Regions from separate parts of the Homo sapiens genome. Here regions 1, 2, 3, 5 and 6 are each linked to region 4. Evidence: promoter capture Hi-C in 16 types of primary human blood cells and fetal thymus (Javierre and others, 2016). All regions are on one chromosome and are shown on one strand. The core of a region is centred on a gene start or on the middle of the fragment in contact, and the rest is flanking DNA. Distances in the headings are between cores, read along the strand shown.

The links. Contacts are between HindIII fragments. The CHiCAGO score rates a contact against its expected background, and 5 or more counts as called.
Region 1: a fragment that was not itself captured here is called in contact with the fragment with the promoter of BACH2 in region 4 in 2 of 17 cell types (activated CD4 T cells and total CD4 T cells); the score reaches 9.0 in activated CD4 T cells.
Region 2: a contact is called between a fragment that was not itself captured here and the fragment with the promoter of BACH2 in region 4, in 6 of 17 cell types (non-activated CD4 T cells, naive CD4 T cells, total CD8 T cells and 3 more). The highest score is 8.8, in non-activated CD4 T cells.
Region 3: a fragment that was not itself captured here is called in contact with the fragment with the promoter of BACH2 in region 4 in 2 of 17 cell types (activated CD4 T cells and naive CD8 T cells); the score reaches 10.3 in activated CD4 T cells.
Region 5: a fragment that was not itself captured here is called in contact with the fragment with the promoter of BACH2 in region 4 in 2 of 17 cell types (megakaryocytes and fetal thymus); the score reaches 5.7 in megakaryocytes.
Region 6: a fragment that was not itself captured here is called in contact with the fragment with the promoter of BACH2 in region 4 in 2 of 17 cell types (non-activated CD4 T cells and naive CD4 T cells); the score reaches 5.6 in non-activated CD4 T cells.

Annotation. Positions count from the first base shown.
Region 1 is chr6:89,853,154-89,855,995 of GRCh38, forward strand. CASP8AP2 (caspase 8 associated protein 2) reads left to right here. Exons shown (of 10, transcript NM_012115.4): 3 at 13-81; 4 at 1,664-1,764; 5 at 2,317-2,391. Among named protein-coding and RNA genes, the nearest start is that of CASP8AP2, 25 kb to the left of the region's middle. The HindIII fragment of the contact is 2,521 bases long and covers 257-2,777 here.
Region 2 is chr6:90,009,634-90,012,333 of GRCh38, forward strand. The region is part of intron 5 of BACH2 (BACH transcriptional regulator 2); the gene reads right to left. Among named protein-coding and RNA genes, the nearest start is that of GJA10, 120 kb to the left of the region's middle. The HindIII fragment of the contact is 6,501 bases long and covers 1-2,700 here.
Region 3 is chr6:89,872,140-89,874,839 of GRCh38, forward strand. It overlaps CASP8AP2 (caspase 8 associated protein 2), which reads left to right. Exons shown (of 10, transcript NM_012115.4): 10 at 1,662-2,297. The coding sequence ends at 1,670. Among named protein-coding and RNA genes, the nearest start is that of GJA10, 21 kb to the right of the region's middle. The HindIII fragment of the contact is 700 bases long and covers 1,018-1,717 here.
Region 4 is chr6:90,295,425-90,298,124 of GRCh38, forward strand. It overlaps BACH2 (BACH transcriptional regulator 2), which reads right to left and starts at 1,419. Exons shown (of 9, transcript NM_021813.4): 1 at 1,056-1,419. It overlaps LOC105377891 (a long non-coding RNA gene), which reads left to right and starts at 1,815. Exons shown (of 7, transcript XR_942778.4): 1 at 1,815-2,312. RefSeq lists silencers at 598-657, 1,283-1,332. The HindIII fragment of the contact is 2,083 bases long and covers 200-2,282 here.
Region 5 is chr6:90,588,946-90,591,645 of GRCh38, forward strand. LOC124901363 (a long non-coding RNA gene) reads left to right here. Exons shown (of 2, transcript XR_007059680.1): 2 at 1,703-2,014. Among named protein-coding and RNA genes, the nearest start is that of MAP3K7, 3.2 kb to the left of the region's middle. The HindIII fragment of the contact is 5,597 bases long and covers 1-2,700 here.
Region 6 is chr6:90,029,181-90,031,880 of GRCh38, forward strand. All of the region lies in intron 5 of BACH2 (BACH transcriptional regulator 2), which reads right to left. Among named protein-coding and RNA genes, the nearest start is that of GJA10, 140 kb to the left of the region's middle. The HindIII fragment of the contact is 873 bases long and covers 941-1,813 here.

The DNA of each region.
Region 1 (2,842 bases), core at 267-2,766, 440 kb before region 4:
CCTTTCTTGCAGCTTCTCCTCTTAAGAACAATGATGAAGGCTCACTGGACATATACGCTGGGTTGGACAGTGCTGTTTCTGGTATGTGAATTCCATAAAAATAGTTTCATTTTCTTGGTCAGTTCATTGTTTTGTGGTTACTAAATCCTGGTATATCATAGCTCCTAAAGAATTTGCTCATTCTTTGTAATTACACTGAGGTAATTCTTTTCTTTCTTTTCCCCCACAGTAACTTCCAGAACCCAATCTTAACCAAAGCTTGATCAGAAAAACAAATTAGCACACAGGTTTTTTATTCATCTCAGTCTCAGATTTAATTGAGCCTTGTGCAAAAACATTTTCTACTATTGAAGTGCAACTAGTGCTGGTGTCTGTTACTACTCACTCATACTCTTTTTTTTTTTTTTTTTTTTTGAGACGGAGTCTCACACTGTCGCCCAGGCTGGAATGCAGTGGCTTGATCTCGGCTCACTGCAACCTCCGCCTCCTGGGTTCAAGTGGTTCTCCTGCCTCAGCCTCCCAAGTAGCTGGGACTACAGGCACGTGCCACCACACCCGGCTAATTTTTTGTATTTTTAGTAGAGACAAGGTTTCACCATGTTAGCCTGGATGGTCTCGATCTCCTGACCTCGTGATCCGCCCACCTCAGCCTCCCAAAGTGCTGGGATTACAGGCATAAGTCACCACACCTGGCCGCACTCATACTCTTGAAGGTTATATGATATTAGAACATTTGAAAAGTGTAAGTTACTATAAATATTTTTAAACGTATCAGTAAGAGTGATATGCTGAGAATCTAATGACCTATTCAAATTAGAAACCTTTTCCATAATCAGATTTCTCAGAGTTTTGAACAGTTATGATCTTCATACCTAATTTGGTTGACACAACCATTTTAGGTAAATTGGTAGTCCATCTGTAAAATCAGTATAAATTTGGAATGTAGGATAAGTGAAATGTAGGATGAAGTATGGGAGATGGAGAAATGTATAATCTTTGAAGTAGATAAAATATCAAAAAGTGTAACAAGGCTGGGCGCGGTAGCTCACGCCTGTAATCCCAGCACTTTGCAAGGCCGAGGCGGGCGGATCCCCTGAGGTCAGGAGTTGGAGACCAGCCTGGCCAACATAGTGAAAACTCGTCTCTACTACAAATACAAAAAAAATTACCTGGGCATGGTGGCACGTGCCTATAGTCCCAGCTACTCAGGGAGGCTGAGGCAGAAGAATCGCTTGAACCCAGGAGGCGGAGGTTGCAGTGAGCCAAGATAGCGCCACTGCGCTCCAGCCTGGGTGACAGAGGGAGACTCCTAAAAAAAAAAGGTGTGACAAATATTTTCACTTTGTGAGGCCAAGGCGGGTGGATTTCTTGAGGTCAGGAGTTCGAGACCAGCCTGGCCAACATGGTGAAACACCATCTCACCATCTCTACTAAAAATACAAAAATTAGTGGGGCGTGGTGGCGTGCACCTGTAATCCCAGCTACTCGGGAGGCTGACGCATGAGAATGGCTTGAACCTGGGAGGGTGAGGCTACAGTGAGCCAAGATTTGCACCACTGCCACTGCACTCTAGCATGGGTGACAGAACGAGACTCAAAAAAACAAAAGAAAAAAGTGTAACAAGTATTTTTATGGAAGGTTTTTTTTGTTTGTTTGTTTTTAGACAGCGCTTCCAAATCCTGTGTACCATCAAGAAATTGTTTGGACTTATATGAAGAGATCCTGACTGAAGAAGGAACTGCAAAGGAGGCAACATATAATGATGTATGGGTTGCCACAATTATTAAGGACAGTTATTTACTGTTTTGTAGCTTCTGAAGAGCAGTCAGCTGCTTAGTTTTGAACAGATATTTTGTTTAGGAACTTAGCTCTTAGACTAACAAATATTTAAGTCAGTTTTTGTCTTCAGACCTGTTTTTTAAAGGAATGTTTTCTGAATACTTGTCTAAATTTAGTTATAATTTTGCTTGACCCAATTTAAGCATCTGAATATAAAACCTCAACAGGCAAACAGTGTTACAACATTTTTTCTTTCATGATATGTACAAAGTTAAATTATATGTTGCATAAAATGTCCTCAGACTTCTATTTCTTTCTACTATATTTGAATTTTAAGGTTTGGATGTTGAATGTGAAACTAAACAAAATAGATTATTTGTAGGCTTAACTTTAAAACTGGTTATCTTTCTGGTAGAAGTAGACCTCATCTGCCTTCTTAGTGAATTGATTTGCAAAATTTAAAATATTTAGAAATGCCAGTTAAGCTAAGAAAATAATTTTGAATGATACTTCAATTAATCCTTTTATATTTTATAGTTGCAAGTAGAATATGGAAAATGTCAACTACAAATGAAAGAGCTGATGAAAAAATTTAAAGAAATACAGACACAGGTAGAGTATAAATGAAAACATAAAAAACAAATTACCAGGCACAGTGACTCACACCAGTAATTTCAGCACTTTGAGAGGCAGAGGTGAGAGGATTGCTTGAGGCCAGGAGTTTGAGCCCAGCCTTAGCAAGGTAGCGAAACCTCATCTCTACAAAAAAATAAAACAATTAGCTGTGTATGGCCCCCTGTAGTCCTAGCTACTTAGGAGGCTGAGGAGGGAGGACTCTTGAACTCAGGAGTTTGAAGTTAAAGTGAGCTGTGATTGTGCCACTGCACTCCAGCCTGGGTGACAGAGCAAGACCCTGTCACTTAAAAAAAGTAAAACAACAAAAAAAAAGTTGTTATAAATAGAAATTAAAATGTTAAAGTGTTGACAGTTTATAAGGAAGCTTTCTTTTAGTATTAAATGAAATAGCAAATGTGGCAAGTATGCATTATTTCCTGAGTTGATG
Region 2 (2,700 bases), core at 141-2,640, 290 kb before region 4:
CTTTGCTTTAAAAAATATCCATTGAAATATTTCTTTTTCTTTTTTTTGAGAGGGAGTTTTGTTCTTGTCGCCCAGGCTGAAGTGCAATGGTGCGATTCTCAGCTCACTGCAACCTCCACCTCCTGGGTTCAAGTGATTCTCCTGCCTCCGCTTCCCAAGTAGCTGGGATTACAGGCATGTGCCACCGTGCCTAACTAATTTTTGTATTTTTAGTACAGACGGGATTTCACCATCTTGGCCAGGCTGGTTTTGAACTCCTGACCTCAGGTGATCCACCCGCCTCGGCCTCCCAAAGTGCTGGGATTACAGGCGTGAGCCACTGTGCCTGGCCCCGCTGAGGTATTTTAAAATACAGTATCTGTAATTAATTTATATAGTTACATAGTTTTTCTGTAATGTTTGCTAGAGTAGTAAGAATTCCAGTAGCGAGTCCTACTTTCTTTTTGGCTTTCTTATTTTTTTAAAACAGCTTTAACATACAATAAACTGTACATATTTATAGTGAGCAATTTGATGTTTTGATTGTGTATGTAACTGTGAAACCATCATCACAATAAAGATAGTAAACAAATCCATCATCACCAAAAGTCTCCTTAAGGCCCTTGTAATAATTTTTCCCTTGTACCTCTCTGTACCCCACCGCTACAACGACTGATCAGCTTTCTGACATTCTATATTAGCTTGCATTTTCTAGAGTTTCATATAAATGGAATCATAAACTACATATTCTTTTATATCTGGCTTCTTCTATTCAGCATAATTATTTCACCATTCATCCATGTTGCTGCATATATCAAGTTTGTTCCTTTATTACTTAGCATCCTATTGTATAAATATAGCGTAACTTTTTTTTTATCCATTCATCTATTAGTGGATATTTGGGTTGTTTCCAGTATTTATTTACAAATAAAGCTGCTGTGAACATTCACATACAATTCTTTGGATGGACATATGCTTTCACTTCTCTTGGGTAAATACCTGTGAGTAGAATGTATTATATGGTATGTGTAAGCATAACTTTTAAAGAGTCTGCCACTGTTTTCTAAAGTGGCTGTAACATTTTACATTTCCACCAGCAGTGTATGAGTTCCAGTTCCTTCACATCCTTGCCAACATTTGGTATGGTCACTCTTTCTAGTTTTGGACATTGTAATAGGTCTATCATATTTCTTTTTGGGTTTAATTTGCTTTCTCTAATGCCTGAAGTTGTTGAGAATCTTCCATGTGTTTATTTGACCTCTGTATATTTTCTTTGAAGAAATGTCTATTTAGATTCTTTGCCCATTTTTAATTGGGTTGTTTTCTTATTTTTCAGTTTTAAGAGTTCTTCATATATTCTGAATAAAAGTCCTTTATCAGATACATGACTTGTAAAAATTTTTTCCCAGTCTGTAGCTTGTCTTTTGATTCTCTTAAAAGTGTCTTTCAAGGAACAGAAAGTCTTTATTTGATGAAGCCAAAAAACCATCTTGGTGTCACATCTAAAAAACTAAACCAAGGTCATAAAGATTTTCTCTTGTTTTCTGCTAGAAGTGTTATTTTTTTAGCCCTTACATTTAGGTCTATGGCCCATTTTGAGTTAATTTTTGTGTAGGTAACAGGTATGGATTGAGGTTCTTTTTTTCCTTTTGCATAGGAATATCCAATCATTCCCGCAGCATTGTTAAAAATACTCTTTTCTCTCCTGAATTACCTTTGTATTTTTACTGAAAATCAGTTGTTTTTACATGTATGAATCTATTTATGGACTCTGTCTTTTACTATTTTTATGTTTGTCTACTTTTGTTTTTTTTGGAGACAAACCTTGCTTATTTGTACTTTTACTGAAAATCAGTTGTTTTTACATTTATGAATCTATTTATGGACTCTGTCTTTTACTATTTTTATGTTTGTCTACTTTTGTTTTGTTTTGTTTTGGAGACAGGGTATCACTTTGGAGTGCAGTGGCATGGCCATAGCTCACAGCAGTAGCTGGCACTACAGGTGTGCATCACCGTATCTGGCTAATTTAAAAATATTTTTTGTATTCCTGTAATCCCAGCACTTTGGGAGGCTGAGGCAGGCAGGTTACGAGGTCAGGAGTTCGAGACCAGCCTGGCCAACACAGCGAAACTGCGTCTTTACTAAAAATACAAAAATTAGCTGGGTGTGGTGGTACGTGCCTGTAATCCCAGCTACTTGGGAGGCGGAGACAGGAGAATCGCTTGAACCCAGAAGGCGGAGGTTGCAGTGGCCGAGATCACACCACTGCACTCCAGCCTGGGTGACACAGCAAGACTCTGTCTCAAAAAAAAAAATATGTGTGTGTGTGTGTGTGTGTGTGTGTGTGTGTGTGTGTGTGTATGAGTGATGAGGTCTCGCCATATTGCCCAGGCTAGTCTCAAACTCCTGGCGTCAAGTGATCCTCCTACCTCAGCCTCCTAAAGTGCTGGGATTACAGATGTGAGCCACTGTACCCAGCCTCTATATCTACTTTTATGTTACTATCATAGTGTCTTGATTTGCTCTTTTTCAAAGTTAGTTTGATCCTTTGCATTTCCATATACATTTTATAATCAGCTTGCCAATTTCTACAAAATAGTCTGCTGGAATTTTCACTGAGATTGTACTGAATCTACTGATGAATTTAGGAAGAACTGCCATCTTAACAATAATGAATCTTCTGACCCATGAACACAGTCTCTTTATTTAGATCATCTT
Region 3 (2,700 bases), core at 118-2,617, 420 kb before region 4:
TGTTGGCCAGGCTGGTCTTGAACTCTGGGTCTCATGTGATCTGCTCACCTCGGCCTCCCAAAGTGCTGGGATTACAGGCGTGAAAAAAATGTTTTAAGAGATGGAGTCAGGCCAGGCGCGATGGCTCACGCCTGTAATCCCAGCACTTTGGGAGGCCGAGGAGGGCAGATCACAAGGTCAGGAGATTGAGACCATCCTGGCTAACATGGTGAAACCCCGTCTCTACTAAAAATACAAAAAATTAGCCGGGCACAGTGGCACACCTGTAATCCCAGCACTTTGGGAGGCCGAGGTGGGCAGATCATTTGAGGCCAGGAGTTCTATACCAGCCTGGCCAACATGGTGAAACCCCATCTCTACAAAAAATACAAAAATTAGCTAGGCATGGTGGCACGTGTCTGTAATCCCAGCTACTTGGGAGACTGAGGCATGAGAATCGCTTGAACCTGGGAGGTGGAGGTTGCGGTGAGCCAAGATTGCGCCACTACACTCCAGCCTGAAAGAGTGAGACTCTGCCTCTCAGAAAGAAAAGAAAAAAAAAACAAAAACTTGATTTGGACATAGAGCGCAGTGCTAGTGAAATCTTCAAAATATGTGTAGTAGTTTACTATGATGTTAAATTTCTTTTGTTTGTTCTGAGACGGAGTCTCACTCTGTCGCCCGGGCTGGAGTGCAGCCGCATGATCGCAGCTCACTGCAACTTCTGCCTCTCGGGTTCAAGTGATTATGACGTTAAATTTCTACTTATATAATTCAGAATGTTGCCGGGTGCAGTGGCTCATGCCTGTAATCCGAGCACTTTGGGAGGCTAAGGTGGGCAGGTCACCTGAGTTCAGGAGTTCGAGACCAGCCCAGCCAACATGATGATACTTCATTTCTACCAAAATTACAAAAATTAGCTGGGTATGGTGGAACGTGCCTGTAATCCCAGCTACTTGGGAGCCTGAGGCAGGAGAATCACTTGAACAAAACACAACAGAATACTGTAAGCTTGAATAATGGGGAATTTGGAGAAGAAGCTTATTCTAAAGAACTTTTTTTTAAAAAGCTCTGGGCAAAAGTGGCTTGATTATTTATTAGATTAACTGTGCTTTTTAAGATTTTTGCTGCCTTTAAGAAATTAAATCGTTTCTTTTTTTTACCTTAATGTTATATTAAAGTATGATTTCCGTTCTCTTGTGAAGAGAATGTAAATTCTTTTAAACAGAGATGGGGTTTCGCTGTGTTGCCCAGGCTGGTCTCGAACTCCTGGATTCAAGCGATCCATCTGCCTTGGCCTCCCAAAGTGCTCAGATTACAGGCGTAAGCTACTGCACCTGGCCAAAAATCTAAAACCATTTAATGAATTTGATATTTGAGATTTCTTTGCTTGCAGGATAGCACATATTGTGGGTTATTTCATTCGTAGCTTGCCTCTTAACTGATTTTTTTTCCCCACAAGTACTGTAGTCCTATTAAATTTTTGTCAATATCAAGTATAATGATAGTTACCAAACTGATTGCAAAAGCTAGGTTTTTTTTTAAATTTTGAGACCAATTGGAAGATGAGAAAGCTAGTTTATTAAACACCAATATCGTCTAAATGGAGCTCATTTAAGATAACACATTATGAGATAGTCCTATCAGAAAAATAGAATAATAACTTTAGCATTTTCTTACATTACAGATAAGTTGCTGAATTCCTGGGACTCTTAACTGATATTGCATACTACACAGAAGCTTCAAATTCCTCATGTTTTAAATGAGCACTAGAGGGAGGTTTATCACCTTTTTGGTTACCAGATGATAATCTATATTTGTTATTACTCAGTGACTCTCTAATTTCACATCAGCATGTTCAGCTTGTGCTAGTCATCATTCTGATTTGCTTATCTGTTTTTGGTCAAAATATTTATTTTTAAACATGTTAGAACTTACCAAAATGAAAGCAACAGTGATGTATTGAAATCTTAGTTTTGATATTTTAAAGAAATGACTTTCTAGATTAAAAAAATAGTTTTGTAGCATTTTAAACTTAGTGACTATTTAGTTCAATTGTTCATCCATTTTTTATTTGCTTTTATAATTGCCTCCTTGTTTTGGTATATTGTAAAATAATTTAAATAATGTATTTATAAATATGTATAATTATGATGTAAAATACCGTGTGTATATGTATGTATGTGTGTTTCTGTATATGCACACACATAAACGGCTTTGCCTAGCCAAGGATTTTTTTTATCTGTATAAAACTTTTTGTATAAAGTTTGCTTTCAATAACAGTAATGTATAATAAAACCATGTAAAGTTTTGTTGTATTTTGATTCGAATGTTTCTTTTACTTTTATTGTGTTTAGGTAATAATTTAAAAAATCAAAAGAGGTAAAAGTCCTAGGGGACGTAGGGTGCAATTTTGAAGTGGTTCCTGGTTGGGGTGTGGCTGGCTGAATGGTTCTGAGTAGATTGAGAAAACTGATTGCTGTTGCCTGCCTTCTCACAGCAAGTACTAGAACGGTGAACCATATCTCTGCTGCAGGTGTCCTCACAGATAAAATTAGAGTAGCACAAGAGCTTTTTGGGTGAAGCTTTGGAGAAAACAGGTGTAAGGATTGATTAGCTTGGGCATTACTTCTTCACCCTTCAGCCTTCAGACTCACAGAACTTCTCAGTTAATAATCTAGGCCCTAGACTCTAGGAAGTGCCTCTTCTCATTGCCATTTT
Region 4 (2,700 bases), core at 169-2,668:
CGAGGTCGCCGAGATGCTCGCTCCAGTCTCTCCCCTCGTGGGCACCTAGGGTAGCCCGTGAGCGCCGCCCGCCGCCGTCTCCAGCGGCGCCGGGCTCCCGAACACCCGCCGGGTGAGCGAAGCACAGCGGGGCCACGGAGCGCCTCGACGCGGGGACGGGGAGGGCAGTGTCCCCTTCATAAACCAGTCTCCTGGGTGAAGCTTCTGGGGCTTGGAGACTGGAGTGTAGGGTGTGTGTGTGTGTGTGTGTGTGTGTGTGTTGCACCTTGACTTCATGGAGGATCTGTGGGAGAGGAGGTGCAAGGTTTCCCTCTCAGAAGCCTGGCGCCCTTAGGTCTTAGCTACGCGGGACGCTTTCCGACAACCCGATCTTTCGCTAGGAGAGATTCGATCCAGGTCTGCGCCGCGAGGCCCCCAGCTCGCCTCTTCCTGCGACCCTAAACTTGGGCTTTGATTCCCCGCCGGTCGCGGTGGTCCGGGCCACCCGGCGGCGGCTGACAGCTGAGCGCAAAGGCGCCGCGGCCAAGGTCCTCGCGGAGCAGCCCGGGATGCGCACGCCGAGGGTTAAGGAGGAGGCCGCCCGGCCTGGAGCTGGGATCGCAGGCTGGGGGCCGGGACACCCGGGCCTCGCCGGGCCGGGGGCAGGGCCGCGGGTCTGACAGCTGCTGCGGCTCGCGCGGACGCGCGCCTCCTGCAGCCCGCCCTCCCCATGCCTGACTTATTACTCTCTGCTCCTCCTCCCTCTGCTGTTCCAAAACACCCTTCGACGCCAGCAAAATACAATGCGCCTCGGCCGCCGTAAACAGCCGGGAGGGAGAGCACACATTCGGCGCGGCGCGGCCGCCGGCTCGGCTCCCACCCCCTTCCCGTTCCTAGAAAATGCCATAAAAGCGGGCAGGGCGCGGGGAGGGCGGCTGCGCGCCCGGCGGCCGGGGCTCCCTTCCCGCGCCGTTTCCCCACGCCTCCCCGCCCGCCCCGCGCGCCCGCTCCCCCCGCAAACTTGCCCCGCCACCCCGCCCAGCGGCGGGGCCCGGGGCCCGGGGCCCGGGACTCACCTCGCCGGAGAACTTTGCGTCCTTTTCCGCCTCCTCTTCCCCGCGTCTTCCCGGCTCGCAGCCCCCTCCCGGCAGCCGGCGAGGTGGGCAGTTCGTGGGTCACCGAAAGCTCGCGGAGGGGACGCGCATCACATGGCAGCTCGTTCCCAGCCCCCCGAGTGCGCCGGGAAGGGGGAGGGGAAGGGGCGAGGGGAGGCCGGGGGGAAAGCGAGAGCGGGGCGGCGGCGGGAGTGGGCAGGCGGGGTGGCGAGGGCGGCGGCCGCTCACGTTAGCGCTGTGCGACCGCAGCCCGGGCGTGCACGGCCGCTGCTGCCGCTGCTGCTGCTGCTGCTGCTGCTGAGGCGGCGGCGGCTCGGCGCTGTTTGCTCCGCGCCGCGCGGCTTGCGCTCTCCCCGGAACGCCCACACTCTCAATCGCTACATTGTTGACATTCGGCGCTGACGTCACCCGCTCCCCATTCACAATAACTTTACGGGAGCCGGGCAGCGCACCTCCCCGGCCGCTGGGGCGCGGTACGCCCGGCGACTAGCGTAAGCCGCTCCGCGAATGGCGCTCCGGGGGCTGGGGCGGGGGGCGGGGGACGGGGGCGGGCGCGCGCGCTCCGCTGGCTCGCGGGAGGGGGCGCGCCTCATGCCGCCGCAGCAGCAGATCTCCCCGCTTTGTGCGGCCGCGCGGCCCGGAGAGCCCCCTCCTCCCGGCCCGGCTGACCGCCCCGCTCGGCCTGGCCTTCCCGGCCACGAAAGACGAGGGTTGGGGGCATAGCAGGGTGAGAGTAGTGGTGAGGGCTGGTGTGGCACGTGGGGAGGGGGCCAGAGCCCTAGGTGCTGCACCTGGGGAAGGAGAGCAGACGTCGGGACCGGGGATCCCAGGGTTAGCTAGCGTTTTCCCGGAAGGGCAAGAAAAGATGCTCCACTGGCCCCCACAAAGCTGACCGGACTCCCTTTTGGGTGGGGACCGGGCGAGTAAAAGCAGCCTTTTGAATGTTGACTTCTCAATCCTTTTCAGGAGGCCCTCCGCCTGCCCTACTGAGCGAACCTTTAAGCCCCCAAGCCAGTGTTTTTGGAAAGAGAGTGGTCAATTTCAGGAGGACATTAAAAGCCAACCTCCCGGGCTTCAGCCCCAGCTCCTACTGCCTTCCAGCCACTCTCCCCTGCCTTTCCTTTCTGCGGCTCTTAGGATGTTGTTGCTGCCCTTAAAGGCCGTCGTGTGAGTGCCCTGTCAGAAGAAAGCTTGGTGGTGGTTAGGATTTTACAGAAGGTAATTAGGATTTAGGCTGAATGTACATTTGCAATAAAATAAGGTTGTGTTAGTGTTGTGCTGGTGCCTGCAACTTTACCTCTTGCCAAGGCCAGAAAATTCTGCCACGTTTCCCTAAACACCTATAACTTGGCCCTCTTGTGTACAGGCAGTATTCCATATTATTACACGTGGTGCTGATTTTTAATGAATATTATAAAAGTTTGGCTCGCTCTACTGAGAGAAGGATCATAAATCCCCCCTGTAAAACGGGCACTGGCGTATGCTGAGGAAGCAGTGAAGCGTCCTGGGAGTCTTGTGATATCATCTAAAGTGTTGCTCTGAACTACCTTCATTTGAGGGCAGAGTTTTGAAAGGCCCCATTTGGAATGTCTGTGTGGAAAGCTAA
Region 5 (2,700 bases), core at 107-2,606, 290 kb after region 4:
TTGCTTTATCATAATATACATATGTGCATCTCATCTCTCCATCCATATTTACATCCATCTACCATTTTGCTAGATGCATTTCAAAGTGAATTGATTACATGATTTTGAATATCTTCTACCCCAACACTTCTATGTTTTATCCACTGATTTGGACTTCTAATATTGATGCCAGTCTAAAATCAATTTTTGTCCAACTTGCTTGCAGATTACTTTTTTCTTTTTTGTCTGCCTGCGCCTTTTCCCTAGCTTCTAGTAATAGATGGAAAGTTTCATCAGTGTTTATGTCTCTGGGTTCAGTCATTCCCAAGGTCCAATCCATCTCTTACATTCTGTGATTTGGTTATGTGAGCTAGTAAATTACCATTTCATTTAAGCTGGTCCAAGTTGTATTTTTGTCACTTGTAACCAAATAATCCTAAGTAATAAAGTTTAAATGCAGAGGAATGATGGAGGGGAGCTGAACCTCTCTCAGTTCACTTCAATTTTGACTTTGCATTTCCTTTAACTTTCATGAATTAAGGATAGAAACTTGACCTCAGAATTTCATGTCAACTTCAGTCACCAGTCTGTGTGTCTCCACACGTTTCCGGATACATATCAAAACTATTTAAGTAAATTCCTTGAAGTCCCTCCGAGTTTGAGCACCCTCCACCATTCTCCCTCATGTCAGCACCCTAATAACTACTCTCTAACTTCCAACTCTGTCTTCAATTTTGGCCCTTTTATACTCTCCAGGGGTTGAGAGGACAAGGGTTTCAAAATCCATTTCCCACCACCTCTTTGCTTGTTCTAAATGAGATTCTGATCTTATTTGGCTCATTTTGGGTGTAGGGATATCTGGGACCTATTTTAATGGAGGCTTAGCAGAAACTGGGACTAAAGTAACACCACTTTAATGTTCTGGGTCATATATATGTCAGACAAGTGTTCCATATTTCCATCATAGGCTTGATGATAACATCAATAATTGAGTTTCCATTATTCTCTTCTGCCTTTTGTGGTATTTGCTATATTCTACAATAGTGTTTTTCAATCTTTTTTTTCATTATTGTTCTTTTAAGGAGCCTTTTTAGACATCTTAATGCCCCTCCTCAAAGTTTTAATACCTCAGATACACTGTATATCTATTTATGTATTGTATGTATATTTGTGCTTTCTATGTAAAAAGAGTAAGATTTTTTCTCTCTCCAGTTTTTGCCCCCTGTGGAGGTGTTATTGCCTCCATTGAGAATGCATGTACTAGCAGTTTCATTTTTCACATGACACATCACAAAGTACAACCGAGAGCATCTCTTGGTAGCCATCTCAGAAGAGCAGTTAAACATTCTTTTTCAAAAGCCCTTGGTAAGTTTACCCTTGAGGGATGGGGAACAGGATGCTTGAGGATACACACAGTCATGCGCTGCATAACGATTTTTTGGTCAATGGACCTCATATGTGACAGTGGTCCTATATGATTATAATGAAGCTGAAAAAATCCTATTGGCTAGTGACATTGTAGCCATAGTAATGTCATAGCATGACACATTACTTATAGTGCATTACTCGTGTTTGTGGTGATACTGGTGTAAACAAACTTATGCTGCTAGTCATACAAAAGTATAATACAATTATGTGCAGTGCATAATATTGATAATGATAAACAACTATGTTACTGGTTTATATAATTACTATACTATACTTTTTAATTGTTATTTTACAGTGTACTCCTACTTCCATAAAAAAACTATAAAACAGCCTCAGGCAGGTCCTTCAGGAGGTATTCCAGAAGAAGGCATTGTTATCATAAGAGATGACTGCTCCGTGCGTGTTATTGCCCCTGAAGACTTTCTGGTGGGACAAGATGTGGAGGTGGAAGATAGTGATGTTGATGATCCTGACCCTGTGTAGGTAGACCTAGGCCAACATATGTTTGTCTTACTTTTTAGCCAAAACGTTTAAAAACTATAAAAAAATAAATAAACAGAAAAAAGTGTATAGAATAAGGATCCAAATAAAATACTTTTGTACAGCTGTTCAGTGTGTTTGTGTTTTAAAGCTAAGTGTTATTACAAAAGAGTCAAAAAGTTTTAAAAAATTTAAAAGTTTATGAAGTAAAAGAGTTATAATAAGCTAAGGTTAATTTATTGTTGAAGAAAACTTTTAAAAAATAAATTTAGTGTAACCCAAGAGTACAGTGTTTATAAAGTCTACAGTAGTGTACAGTAATGTTCTAGGCCTTCGCATTCACTCACCAGTCACTCACTGGCTCACCCAGAGTAACTTCCAGTCTTGCAAACTCCATTTATGGTGAGTGCCCTATATAGGTGTACCATTTTTTTAAATCTTTTATATTGTTTCGTTACTGTACCTTTTCTATGTTTAGATACACAAATACCATTGTGTTACATTTGCCTGCAGTATTCAGTATAGTAACATGGTTTATACAGCTTGTAGCCTAGGAACAGGTATAGCTGTTATATACCTAGGTATACCATATAGCCTAGGTGTATAGTAGGCTATGTCATCTTGTAATGATATAAGTATATAATGTTTGTATAAGTACACTCTATGATGTTCACATAATGGTGGAATTGCCGATCAACACACTTCTCAAAACTTATCCCTGTAGTTAAGCAATGCATGACTGTACGTTGTTTAACTTAGATTGAGGGCTCCTGGAAACATGGGCTCTAAGGAGGAGGAGGAGATGCTAACCCG
Region 6 (2,700 bases), core at 127-2,626, 270 kb before region 4:
CACAGCAGGTTCAGCGATCTGCATTTTAACCCCATGACAGCTGATTTCAAACAACCCTACAAACTAAGACTCCCCGCCCTGCCATTCCAAGAACGAGGGGACTTGGGCAATTTATTTAAGTCCTTAGAGTCTCCTTATGTGTGAAATGAAGATAAAGACTGTCTCCCGAGAGACTGTTAGGAGATGTAAATGTGATGGCTCAATCCCTGGCCTCCTCAGGTCTCTGTGCAGACATCACATTCTCAGTGAGGCCTCCCTAACCACCCTGCTCCGTTTAAACCACAACCCCAGCCTCCCACCTCACTCTCCATCCTCCCTCCCTGTTTATGTTTCTTTATAACGTTTTCACATCTCACACACACTATATTTTACTCATATTTTGTTAATGACCTATTTTTCTATTGAGGGCAGGAATTTTTACCTGTTTTGCTCACCATTGAAGCCGCAGAACTTCAAAGTGCTACACTCAATACATACTTAATAAGAAAGTGACTAAAAAAGACTTTTCCTAATCCCAACAGGTCCATATGTCACTTCTGTTTCTGCTGAGGTCTCCTTCCAGCCTGTTTCTTCACACATATCCCTACGCTCTCCAGAGCTGCTTGTCTTTTCTGGGCCTCAAGGTCGCCTTGCCTATCCATTTATCCACAGAAAACTTACTCCATTCTAAGCAATGCGACCGTTAGAGAAAACTAATGATATAACCTCCAAGACACACAGCCAAGATAATGGGATGGTACAAAAGCAAAAGAAAGGCTTAGATTGACACAGTGAAGGAAAAGCTCCCATTTGCAGAGATGCTGAGTAGAAGGTCTTGAGTGTGCTTTATTTCTGAAGCTCTCTGTGCTCAAATACTCACAAATCCAGAAACACATTGCCCATTGGCTCTATACAATGTGGATCCTTGCAGAGTAGAATTAGGCTGTTCTCTCCTGGTAAAAGCTTGTGTGCTCTTGCTTCTAAGAGATGGCTCTGATCCCACCCCCTTATGTCCACGGCCTATCTCAAACTGCCAAACAGAGGACCAATTATGCCCTTCCTTTCCGCAGCCCTCAGGAAAACAGCCAGCACACAGGACCCTCAATGGCACCCTCAGGATGATGCTTTCAGAATGTGACAGCGACCACAGCCCAGGCCTCTGCTGCCCTGGGAGTAGACGTGGCTCTGGAAGGCCTGGGTTTGAGAGAAGATGGTAGGAGGAAGGTTTCTGATTTTCGAATGAAAATCAGACCAGCAGGGTTTTTTGAAAAGATCAACAACATTGATAGACCGCTAGCAAGACTAATCAAGAAGAAAAGAGAGAAGAATCAAATAGACGCAATAAAAAATGACAAAGGGGATATCACCACCGATGCCACAGAAATACAAACTACCATCAGAGAATACGATAAACACCTCTACGCAAATAAACTAGAAAATCTAGAAGAAATGGATAAATTCCTTGACACATACACCCTCCCAAGACTAAACCAGGAACAAGTTGAATCTCTGAATAGACCAATAACAGGTTCTGAAATTGAGGCAATAATTAATAGCTTACCAACCAAAAAAAGTCCAGGACCAGATGGATTCACAGCCGAATTCTACCAGAGGTACAAGGAGGGGCTGGTACCATTCCTTCTGAAACTATTCCAATCAATAGAAAAAGAGGGAATCCTCCCTGACTCATTTTATGAGGCCAGCATCATCCTGATACCAAAGCCTGGCAGAGACACAACAAAAAAAGAGAATTTTAGACCAATATCCTTGATGAACATTGATGCAAAAATCCTCAAGAAAATACTGGCAAAACAAATCCAGCAGCACATCAAAAAGCTTATCCACCATGATCAAGTGGGCTTCATCCCTGGGATGCAAGGCTGGTTCAACATACGCAAATCAATAAACATAATCCAACATATAAACAGAACCAATGACAAAAACCACATGATTATCTCAATAGATGCAGAAAAGGCCTTTGACAAAATTCAACAACCTTCATGCTAAAAATTCTCAATAAATTAGGTATTGATGGGACATATCTCAAAATAATAAGAGCTATCTATGACAAACCCACAGCCAATATCATACTGAATGGGCAAAAACTGGAAGCATTCCCTTTGAAAATTGGCACAAGACAGGGATGCCCTCTCTCACCACTCCTATTCAACATAGTGTTGGAAGTTCTGGCCAGGGCAACCAGGCAGGAGAAGGAAATAAAGGGTATTCAATTAGGAAAAGAGGAAGTCAAATTGTCCCTCTTTGCAGATGACATGATTGTATATCTAGAAAACCCCATCTTCTCAGCCCAAAATCTCCTTAAGCTGATAGGCAACTTCAGCAAAGTCTCAGGATACAAAATCAATGTGCAAAAATCATGAGCATTCTTATACACCAATAACAGACAAACAGAGAGCCAAATCATGAGTGAACTCCCATTCACAATTGCTTCAAAGAGAATAAAATACTTAGGAATCCAACATACAAGGGATGTGAAGGACCTCTTCAAGGAGAACTACAAGCCACTGCTCAATGAAATAAAAGAGGATATAAACAAATGGAAGAACATTCCATGCTCATGGGTAGGAAGAATCAATATCATGAAAATGGCCATACTGCCCAAAGTAATTTATAGATTCAGTGCCATCCCCATCAAGCTACCAATGACTTTCTTCACAGAATTGGAAAAAACTACTTTAAAGTTCATACGGAAACAAAAAA